Linked DNA regions of Homo sapiens: all the other regions are linked to region 2. The links are contacts of gene promoters, found by promoter capture Hi-C in human tissues and cell types (Jung and others, 2019). All regions are on one chromosome and are shown on one strand. The core of a region is centred on a gene start or on the middle of the fragment in contact, and the rest is flanking DNA. Distances in the headings are between cores, read along the strand shown.

The links. The method cuts DNA at HindIII sites, captures the fragments that hold promoters and counts their contacts. A contact is called where the count stands out against the background at its distance.
Region 1: a contact is called between a fragment that was not itself captured here and the fragment with the promoter of TNKS in region 2, in 1 of the 25 tissues and cell types used here (hippocampus).
Region 3: a contact is called between a fragment that was not itself captured here and the fragment with the promoter of TNKS in region 2, in 1 of the 25 tissues and cell types used here (IMR-90 fibroblasts).

Annotation. Positions count from the first base shown.
Region 1 is chr8:9,683,730-9,686,573 of GRCh38, reverse strand. The region is part of intron 5 of TNKS (tankyrase); the gene reads right to left. Among named protein-coding and RNA genes, the nearest start is that of MIR597, 57 kb to the left of the region's middle. The HindIII fragment of the contact is 5,513 bases long and covers 1-2,844 here.
Region 2 is chr8:9,554,475-9,557,396 of GRCh38, reverse strand. It overlaps TNKS (tankyrase), which reads right to left and starts at 1,485. Exons shown (of 27, transcript NM_003747.3): 1 at 785-1,485. The coding sequence starts at 1,457. RefSeq lists enhancers at 481-1,140, 1,141-1,802 and a silencer at 1,223-1,382. The HindIII fragment of the contact is 13,693 bases long and covers 1-2,922 here.
Region 3 is chr8:9,398,301-9,401,224 of GRCh38, reverse strand. The region is part of intron 1 of LOC105379231 (a long non-coding RNA gene); the gene reads right to left. Among named protein-coding and RNA genes, the nearest start is that of TNKS, 160 kb to the left of the region's middle. The HindIII fragment of the contact is 4,654 bases long and covers 1-2,924 here.

The DNA.
Region 1 (2,844 bases), core at 337-2,836, 130 kb before region 2:
AGTAATAAAGCTGAAAAAAAGATGGAATCTTTCTTGCCCAATAGATAATAAGCATTGAGTTATATTTTCTTTTAATCAGGTATTTCAGTTATCTATTACTACATAACAAACCACCCCAACAGCAGTGAATTACCTGGGCAGGTCTTCAGCTCTATGTGGTATGAGCTACGGTGCTAGGATGGCTGATGTCACCCTAAAGATGGATCGGGAACTCAGATGGGGTTAAATTGTCTGGGACGTGTGAATAGTTAGAATCATTAAGAAGCTTCCATACGAACTCAGGTGGGTCTGTTGGCTAGGGGCCTCAGTTCTTCATGTGGACCTCGTCACATGGCTGCTTGGGCTGCCTTATGACATGGCAGCTGGGTTCCAAGAAGAATTACAAAAAAAGAAACTAGCAGCTGCCAGGCCAACTCAGGGGCGTGTCCTGAATAGGACAGAGTATCACTTGCGCCTTATTTTATTCAAAGCAGTCCCAGGCTAAGCCCAGAGTCAGTGTGGCAGGGGGCTAGACAAGGGCATGAGTAATAAAAGGGACGGTTTATTGAGGCATCTCCAAATAACAACCTACCACATAAAGACTGTTAAAATCCTGGCCAAACACAGTATTTGGAAAAAAGTTATACTGAGAGACGGGGGTACTGATCAAGAATAATGAGAAACTCTACAACCCTAAAACTTAAATGTAGATACAAAGAATTACACTAATCCTCCATCTTTCTTGTTCTTCACTGGATGGGGTTTATGGAATTCCATATATGGCATTATTTTCAGCCAGATATTAATTTTTAATCAACACGTGTTTAAAAATGGGCATATATCTCAAGAATGTATTTCTGAATTTATAAGCTGCTAATTTAGACAAATTTATTTATTAAATGTGACACTGGGTGAAGAGAGGGGAAGGCCAAGCTCCAACTGAATTAATTAAATTATATGCTTTATAGATTACAAGACAATCTATAGGTTATTTTATCCAAAGGCAGCTGGGACAGAGCTTGGACAATAAGGACATTTAAGTGGAGAGAAGGGGAACACTGGAGTACTTAAAAGTATGTAAGTGTCCATTCTAGATACATTTGAAAGTTTCAGAAAAAATTATCAAAGGAGTAGGAATCTAATTTTCTAAAGGTTACTGTGTGCTACAAACTGTACTAGGTATACTGACCACATTATTTCACTTAATCCTCTCAAATGCCTTGTGGAAAGGGTATGGTTATTTCCATTTGAGAGTGAGTAAATTAAAAACTCTAGAGCCATAGACACACACTTGGAAAGCAGAATAGAACCCAATCCCTCTGACCTTACAGTCTATTTGCCCTATCACAGTTTTTCTATGGTGTCTTCAAGGTACAGCACTAAATTCACTAAATTCTACTTTATTTCTGATTGATTTCCTTTTGAAAGTAGTTTTCAAACACTTTACTTTTCTCTGTTTCCAGTCATCTTCATTATTAACTATTTGGAAGCAAATATTTACAGAAAGTTGACACTTAAAGAAATCCTTAAGTTTTCTGAATTAAAATCATGTTCCTCCAATTACCTGCTCATCTAAATTTGTGGTTTCTTACAGAAGGGTATACTAAATACTAAAGCGTTAAAACTAAAAGGGCCAGGAAAAAACACTGTCACCTTAAATCAGCACTTTATAACTGTATCACCGCAAAAGGAATACTGTATCATTTTAATGCATTAGCTTCAATGTCTTCCATAATGTCTTAATCATTCTACCAATGTTTGAGCTCCCCGTTAACCAGTACCATCAACCATATAGTTATCTCCCATGACACTAAGCACAGTGACCCACACATGGTAGGTATTAAGTGTTGGTGGAATGAATGAATGAAAGGAGCAGAGGGAAACCTGAAATACTCAAAATTACATTGGAGATGTTATTTTAAAAGCACCTATCAAATATTAGTTACTTTTAATTGGTGACATATACTAGTAGCAACAGTAGGCAGAGTAGATATATTCAAAGATACATATTATTTCTATTTGGAAATATGTGCAATAGTCCCTAACCCCTACCTATTGCCTATTAAGATGAGGAATGGATAATTTTGGACATTTATTTTGGAAGGGGATAAAGACACCTAGAAAAGGAGAATAACACAGAGAGGAACCACAAAGAACTCTCAAAAGAGTTGACTGTTGGACTAATTTTATTCAAATATTTATTTTCATTTATTATAAAAGGTATCCTTACGAAAATTAACACTGGAAAACAAGAGAATATTACCACCTTAAATTTAGATATCAAACAAGGCCAGAACATGTGGATAATAGCTAATAAAACATCTGATACTGATATAAAACACTGTAAAGGGAGATTAAAGATCAAAAAATCCAAGTTTGAAAATAAAGGAATAAAGAATTCTAGAAAGGCAACAACCTATTTTCAGGTTCTGGTTCACCTAATGGCAATAATGAATTGTGGACTGTTATGACTAATCATACTGGGCAGAAGGTAGAAGATGACTAAATAACATCTATGTCCCTATGTTTCTAAAAGTGGTCATCATTATAACACGTATATAATTGCATAAAAGTATCATTTTAGAGCAACAACAAAAGGTAGCATTTTAGAACAAAAAAAAATTCTGCTTTTAGGGAAAAAAAAAGCCAATAAAATTTCTAGTGTAGCCAGGAGCCAATTTTGATTTATGTGTAAAATAAAAGCATAGTAACAATATAAACTGTATAAAACCTTATTGATGTTTTATAATTTTCAGAATTCTAAAGGTTAGGAAAACAATTGTCTTTGGGAAACAAAATATTAACTTCTCACATATTACCTAATTAGATAATCATCAAGTCACAGTATAGAATTAAGAGTACTTA
Region 2 (2,922 bases), core at 236-2,735:
CAAGTGTGGGGTCCAGAGCTTAAGAAATTCACACTTTTTGAGGGAGAACTTTGTGCCAGATACTTCTCACCAAATGCTCGCACAACATCATTTTATGATTTTTGCCCATGAGAAAACTGAGGCAACTGACACGAGGTAAATGGTCTGCTAGACAACAAATAATAGTGGCCACAACATCAAAGCCTATATTTCTTCCATCATCATATAATGCATCCAAATATTCTTCTCCAGTTGTTTCACATTGGCATATTTTGGTCTCCCCGTCTAGACTGCAAACTTCTTTAGAAGAAGGGAAACTTTCAAACACTTCATTTATGTCTTTCATTGGGTTATTAAGGCTACAATAGATCCTCAAACATGTGTTGGGTTGTATTAAACCTCTTTTGGTCTGGACTGTCCTCAAAGGACATACCCTTGTAAAAACAAAATAAACTAGCACACAAACGACAAAACTACTCTAAAGCTGTCCAAATCTAACTGTATTCCTGCACACCAAAAACTAAAGTGTAAATATATCCATATGCAGAGACTACCAACTACAGTGAGTTTTGTAATGAGTACTGTGCAACCACTGAAGAATTCCTTGGATTCACTTATCCCCCCCAACCACGCCCCCATCACCCAGGCACCACCAAAAGAAAGGAACCTCCAGTCTTCTGGTGAGGTGATGAAGAACCATAACCACGCCCCCACTTTGTCCCATCACAATAACCTGTTTTCTTGTCCTAACCGGACCCTGCACCCAAACCCATAACCCTTAATAAACAATTCAAAAGTCTCTGACCTGCAGCGAAGTGCAGGGGAGAAGACTTCCGGCCGGCCATGTCCTTTGCATTTACGTTTGCCGCGTCCACCAGCCTCTTTACCCGGGACACGTCCCCATTGCGACAGGCCTCCAGCAGTTCCCGTAGGGCCCCGCTCACTGCTGGGACCCCTGTCCCAGGTCCTGCTGCCCCAGGCCCCAGTGGTGCTGTGCTGCTAACTCCGGCCGCCTCGGGGCTCTCCGCCAAGCTCGATCCAGGGGAGGATGGAGAGGAAGATGAGGAAGAAGTCGGGGAAGAAGAGGACGACGGTGAATTGTTACTGCCACTGCCGGCTGGGTTGGGAGCGACCCCAGCGGCAGATGAAGTAGAAACCGCTGGGACCACGGGAGCGGCGGCGACGGTACAGATTGTGCTGGTGGTACTGCAACAGCTGGTACCGTCAACCGGGTCCGGGGATCGGGGCCTGTCGGGCGGATCCCGACTGCCATCCCCCTCCGGCAGCGCTAGGCCGTGCCGCGGGGAGGCGAAGGGGGCCAGGCCGCTGGCCGTGGGAGAGGCTGGGGTGGTCCCCGGGGCCAGGCCAGGGCTGAGTGGGGGAGGAGGTGGCGGCGGCGGCGCTGAAGCCCCTGGGGCGGGCTGGAGCTGTTGTTGATGATGGTGGTGATGATGCTGAGAGCGACGCGACGCCGCCATCTTCGGACTCCCCTAGCACTGTCACTGCGGCAACGGCCCCCACCGCCCGCCCTCACTTCCGACTGTCGGACCAATCAGCATCCAGCGCACAGGAAATGATGCTAGGCGGGGTAGCAGGGGCCAAAGAGAAGGAGGGAAGTATTGGGAGCTCAGAGAACAGCCAAGGGAACGGGGCGGGGCTTTGTCACTGAGAGGCGGGCTTTGTGACGTGGTGGCGGGCCGGCTGGAGAGATTTGAATGCTGGAACCAGCTTCTGCCTAGATGGGAAACATTTCCTGCATTTCTCACTTTCAGTCGGCTTTCTTTGCCCTGCTCCGCTCTGTTTCCCTTAGTCTCCCTTTGCTTGCTCCAGAGCCAGCTGTTGAGATGCAGATCAGAGCAAGCAGGGAATGTGTCCGTTATCATCTATTAAGCGTCCTTGTCTGAAAAATGGAACTTATAGTACCAACCTCACAGAATTATTAGCGGGATTAAAAGAGCTAACAGACAAAGCGCTCTGCCAGTAAAACACAAGTATAATTAGCCCGTTGGTAATTTTTTAAATTATAGTATTTCTTTTCCAGGTGTCCCCTTGAGCTCTTGTCCCTTCCCTATAATTTTTCTCACCCTATGTGCTTTAATTCCTCGTTTTTAAATGCTGGTTCAGATTGCTAGGATTGGCGTTCCAGCTCTGCCATTTGTTGTTTATATATGTACTTGCTATTTCATCACTCTATGCCTGTTTTTCTCTGTAAAATTGAAATAACAATAGTGCAATAAGTGTGAATTATTAAAATTATGATTTTTTTTTCCTATTCTGCTCTCTCTGAAATTTTATTTTTCACCCTAAGTGTAACTAATTATGAATATATTCCTTTCTTTTGAATTCTGGCTTAGCTTAGCCTCTCCCACACCCGAAACAGATAAAAACCTGATTGCTAGGCTGGTCACGGTGGCTCATGCCTGTAATCCTAGCACTTTGGGAGGCCGAGGCCGGCGGGCCACTTGAGCCCGGGAGTTCAAGATCAGCCTGGCCATCACGGCGAAGCTCCATCTCTACAAAAAATACACAGATTAGCTGGGCAAAGTGGCACATGCGTGTAGTCCCAGCTACTCAGGAGTCTGTTGGGAGGATCACTTGAGCCCGGGAGGCAGAGGTTGCTGTGAGCCGAGGTCACACCACTGCACTCCAGCCTGGGTGACAGAGGGCGGAGACCCTGTCACAAAAACAACAAGAAAACATAACAAAAACCTGATTGCTGTCCATTACTCACCATCAGGTGCTATTTTTCAGCAACTGCTTTTTCTGTCTTTCCCCCAACCTATGTATACTTTTGTTTTTCTACTATCAAAAGATGTATCCATGAATGAGATAATCCCATTGAGGACTCCATTTCATACCTACTGTTCAATAGTAAAGCAGGCATTGTAGAAGTATACAGAAACAGCATTATTCCAATAGAGTGGACACAGATGGAAATTCTGT
Region 3 (2,924 bases), core at 333-2,832, 160 kb after region 2:
GAGGAGGAGGAGGAGAGAGTTTGCTTTCTCAACATGCACACACCAGGACAAAGCCCTGTGAGCACACAACAAGAAGGTGGCCTTCTGCAAGCCAGGAAGAGAGCCCTCACCAGAACGTGACCCAGCCAGACCTTGATCTGGAACTTCTAGTCCTCAGAACTGTGAGAAAATAAATTTCTGTTGTTTAAGTCAGCTAGCCTGATACGGCAGCCTGAACACACTGACATTTTGTTCTGTTTTGTTTTTTGAAGTTGGAAAAGTACCTTTTTTAAAAAAATTATGGGCTAGGCATAGTGGTTCACACCTGTAGTTCCAGCACTATGGGAGGCTGAGGCGGGAGGATTACTTGAGCCCAGGAGTTCAAGACCAGACCAGAATGGGTGACAGAGCAAGACCCTGTCTCTACAAAGAAAAAATTCACCAGGTGTGGTGGTACCTCATGGGAATTACATGAAATAGAACTGATCAGAATTCCTCTGTTTGTAGGGCCTAAATCTGCAACTGTGTTAAAAATAGCAAGTATGTCTGTGTAAAACTGGTATCTTTTATTCAACCTATCAATAATACTTAGGCGGCTGAGGTGGGAGGATCAGTTGAGCCCAGCAGGTCAAGGCTGCGGTGAGTTGTGACTGCAGCACTGCACTCCAACCTAGGCAATAGAGTGAGACCATATTTAAATATTATTAAATTTTTTGTGGTAAAATACACACAACAAAATTTGCCATCTTAACCATTTTATTTTTTTATTTTTTATTTTATTTTATTTGAGACAGAGGCTTGCTCTTTTGCCAGGCTGGAGTGCAGTGGCACGATCTCGGCTCACTGCAACCTCTGCCTCCCAGGTTCAAGCAATTCCCCTGCCTGAGCCCCTCGAGTAGGTGGGATTACAGGCACCCGCCTCGTGCCCAACTAATTCATCTTAACCATTTTTAAGTATATAGTTTAATAGTATTAAATACACTCATAATGTTGTTCAACCATCACCTCCATTCATCTACATAACTCTTTACCTGGTAAAACAGAAACTCAACACCCATTAAATAGTAACTCCTCATTCCCCCTCCCTTCATTCTGACAACAACCGTTACACTGCCTGTCTGTATGATTTTGATTACTCTAATCACCTCATTTAGGTAGAATCATACAATATTTTATCCTTTTGTGTCTGGCTTATTGCACTTAGCATAATGTCCTCATAGTTCATCCATGTTGTAGAACATGTTGGAATTTCTTTCCCTTTTAAGGCTGAATAATATTCCATTGCATGTATAGACCACATTTTGCTTATTCATTCCTCTGTCAATAGACACTTGGGTTGCTTCCATATCTTAGTTATTGTAAATAATGCTGCCATAAACATACGTATACAACTATCTCTTTGAGACCCTCTTTTCAATTCTTTCGGAGTGCATAGTCCTAAGTAGAATTGCTGCATCATATGGTGATTCTATTTTTAATTTTTTAAAGAACCTCCATACTATTTTCCACAGTGGCTATAACCATTTTACATTCCCACCAACAGTGCACAAAGGTTCCAATTCCTCCACATCCTTGCCAACACTCATTTTCTGTTTTTTTTTGTTTTGTTTGGTTTGTTTTTTAAGAGTAATCATCTTAATGGTAAGGAGTAGGTTGTATCTTACTGTAGTTTTGATTTGTATTTTTCTCTTTTTCTTTTTTTTTTTTTTTTTAGATGGAGTCTACTTGCTCTGTCACCTAGGCTGGAGTGCTACGGCCCGATCTCGGCTCACTGCAACCTCCATCTCCTGCGTTCAAGTGATTCTCCTGCCTCAGCCTCCCAGGTAGCTGGGATTACAGGCGCGCACAGCTATGCCTGGCTAATTTTTTTTGTATTTTTAGTAGAGATGGGGTTTCACCACGTTGGCCAGCCTGGTCTCAAACTGCTGACCTCAGGTGATCTGCCCACTTCGGTCTCCCAAAGTGCTGGGATTACAGGCGTGAGCCACCGTGCCAGGGCTATTGATTTGTATTTCTCTTATCATGGGTGATGGAAAAGTATGATTTTCACATTGCTAGTAATTTTCTATTATTTATGGACCACTTTCTTCATTTGGGGAAAATCACCAACGGGCCCTTGGTCAGATAGATGTGAAGCAATCACTGCCCCCTGTTTGAGGGGGCCCTGATGTCACCCTATTGGCTGCAATGCAGATGTTTCATGTAAGATATGGGTTCAGTGCATTCTTAGCAGGACTGAGTCTTTGCAGACTTGAAAAATGATCGTCTGTCTTGCCTCTAATTTGAATTTAGAGTAGATTGGTCCTAAAAATTGTTGGCTTTGGGAAGATGGGTGATCCTCTGTGGAAGAGGGACTCAGAAAGGATCAGCCTCTACTGAGGGCTGCTCGGTGTCTTTACTCCGTGTCATGCACTGTGTTGAGCACTTTACAGGGACTATTTCATTTAATTGGCATAAAACCCATTTAAGCTGAGTATTATTATTATCCTCATTTTATAGATGAGCAAAATAAAGCTTAGTGAAATTAAGTAACTTATCCAAGATCATAGAACTAGTGAGTCACAGGGCTAAGATCCAAGATCAGTCTGATTTCAGAATCTTTAACCAGTGTGCCCTGCTCACATGTACTCATACACATGTGTGCACATGGGCCAGGAGAGAGATGCAGATTTAGTCTTCCCTTTGCTGATCATGGAGGAAAGATTCTAGAAGTACCTAAGACTAAGTTCGGATGTTGCAATTTCATGGGTGTGCCAGAGGTTCCACTGATGTGCAGGTTATTCTCTCTCTGCCCCACTCCCTTCCCCAATCCATTCTCTGCCCATCTCCACTCTGTTCTATGCCATGGGACACTGATCCCTGTAGCCTGCAACTCTACAACCTCTTGCTGGCTGACTGCCAGGTCGATTTGATCCCAGGAGACAGTGGCAGGGCATCAGAGGTTG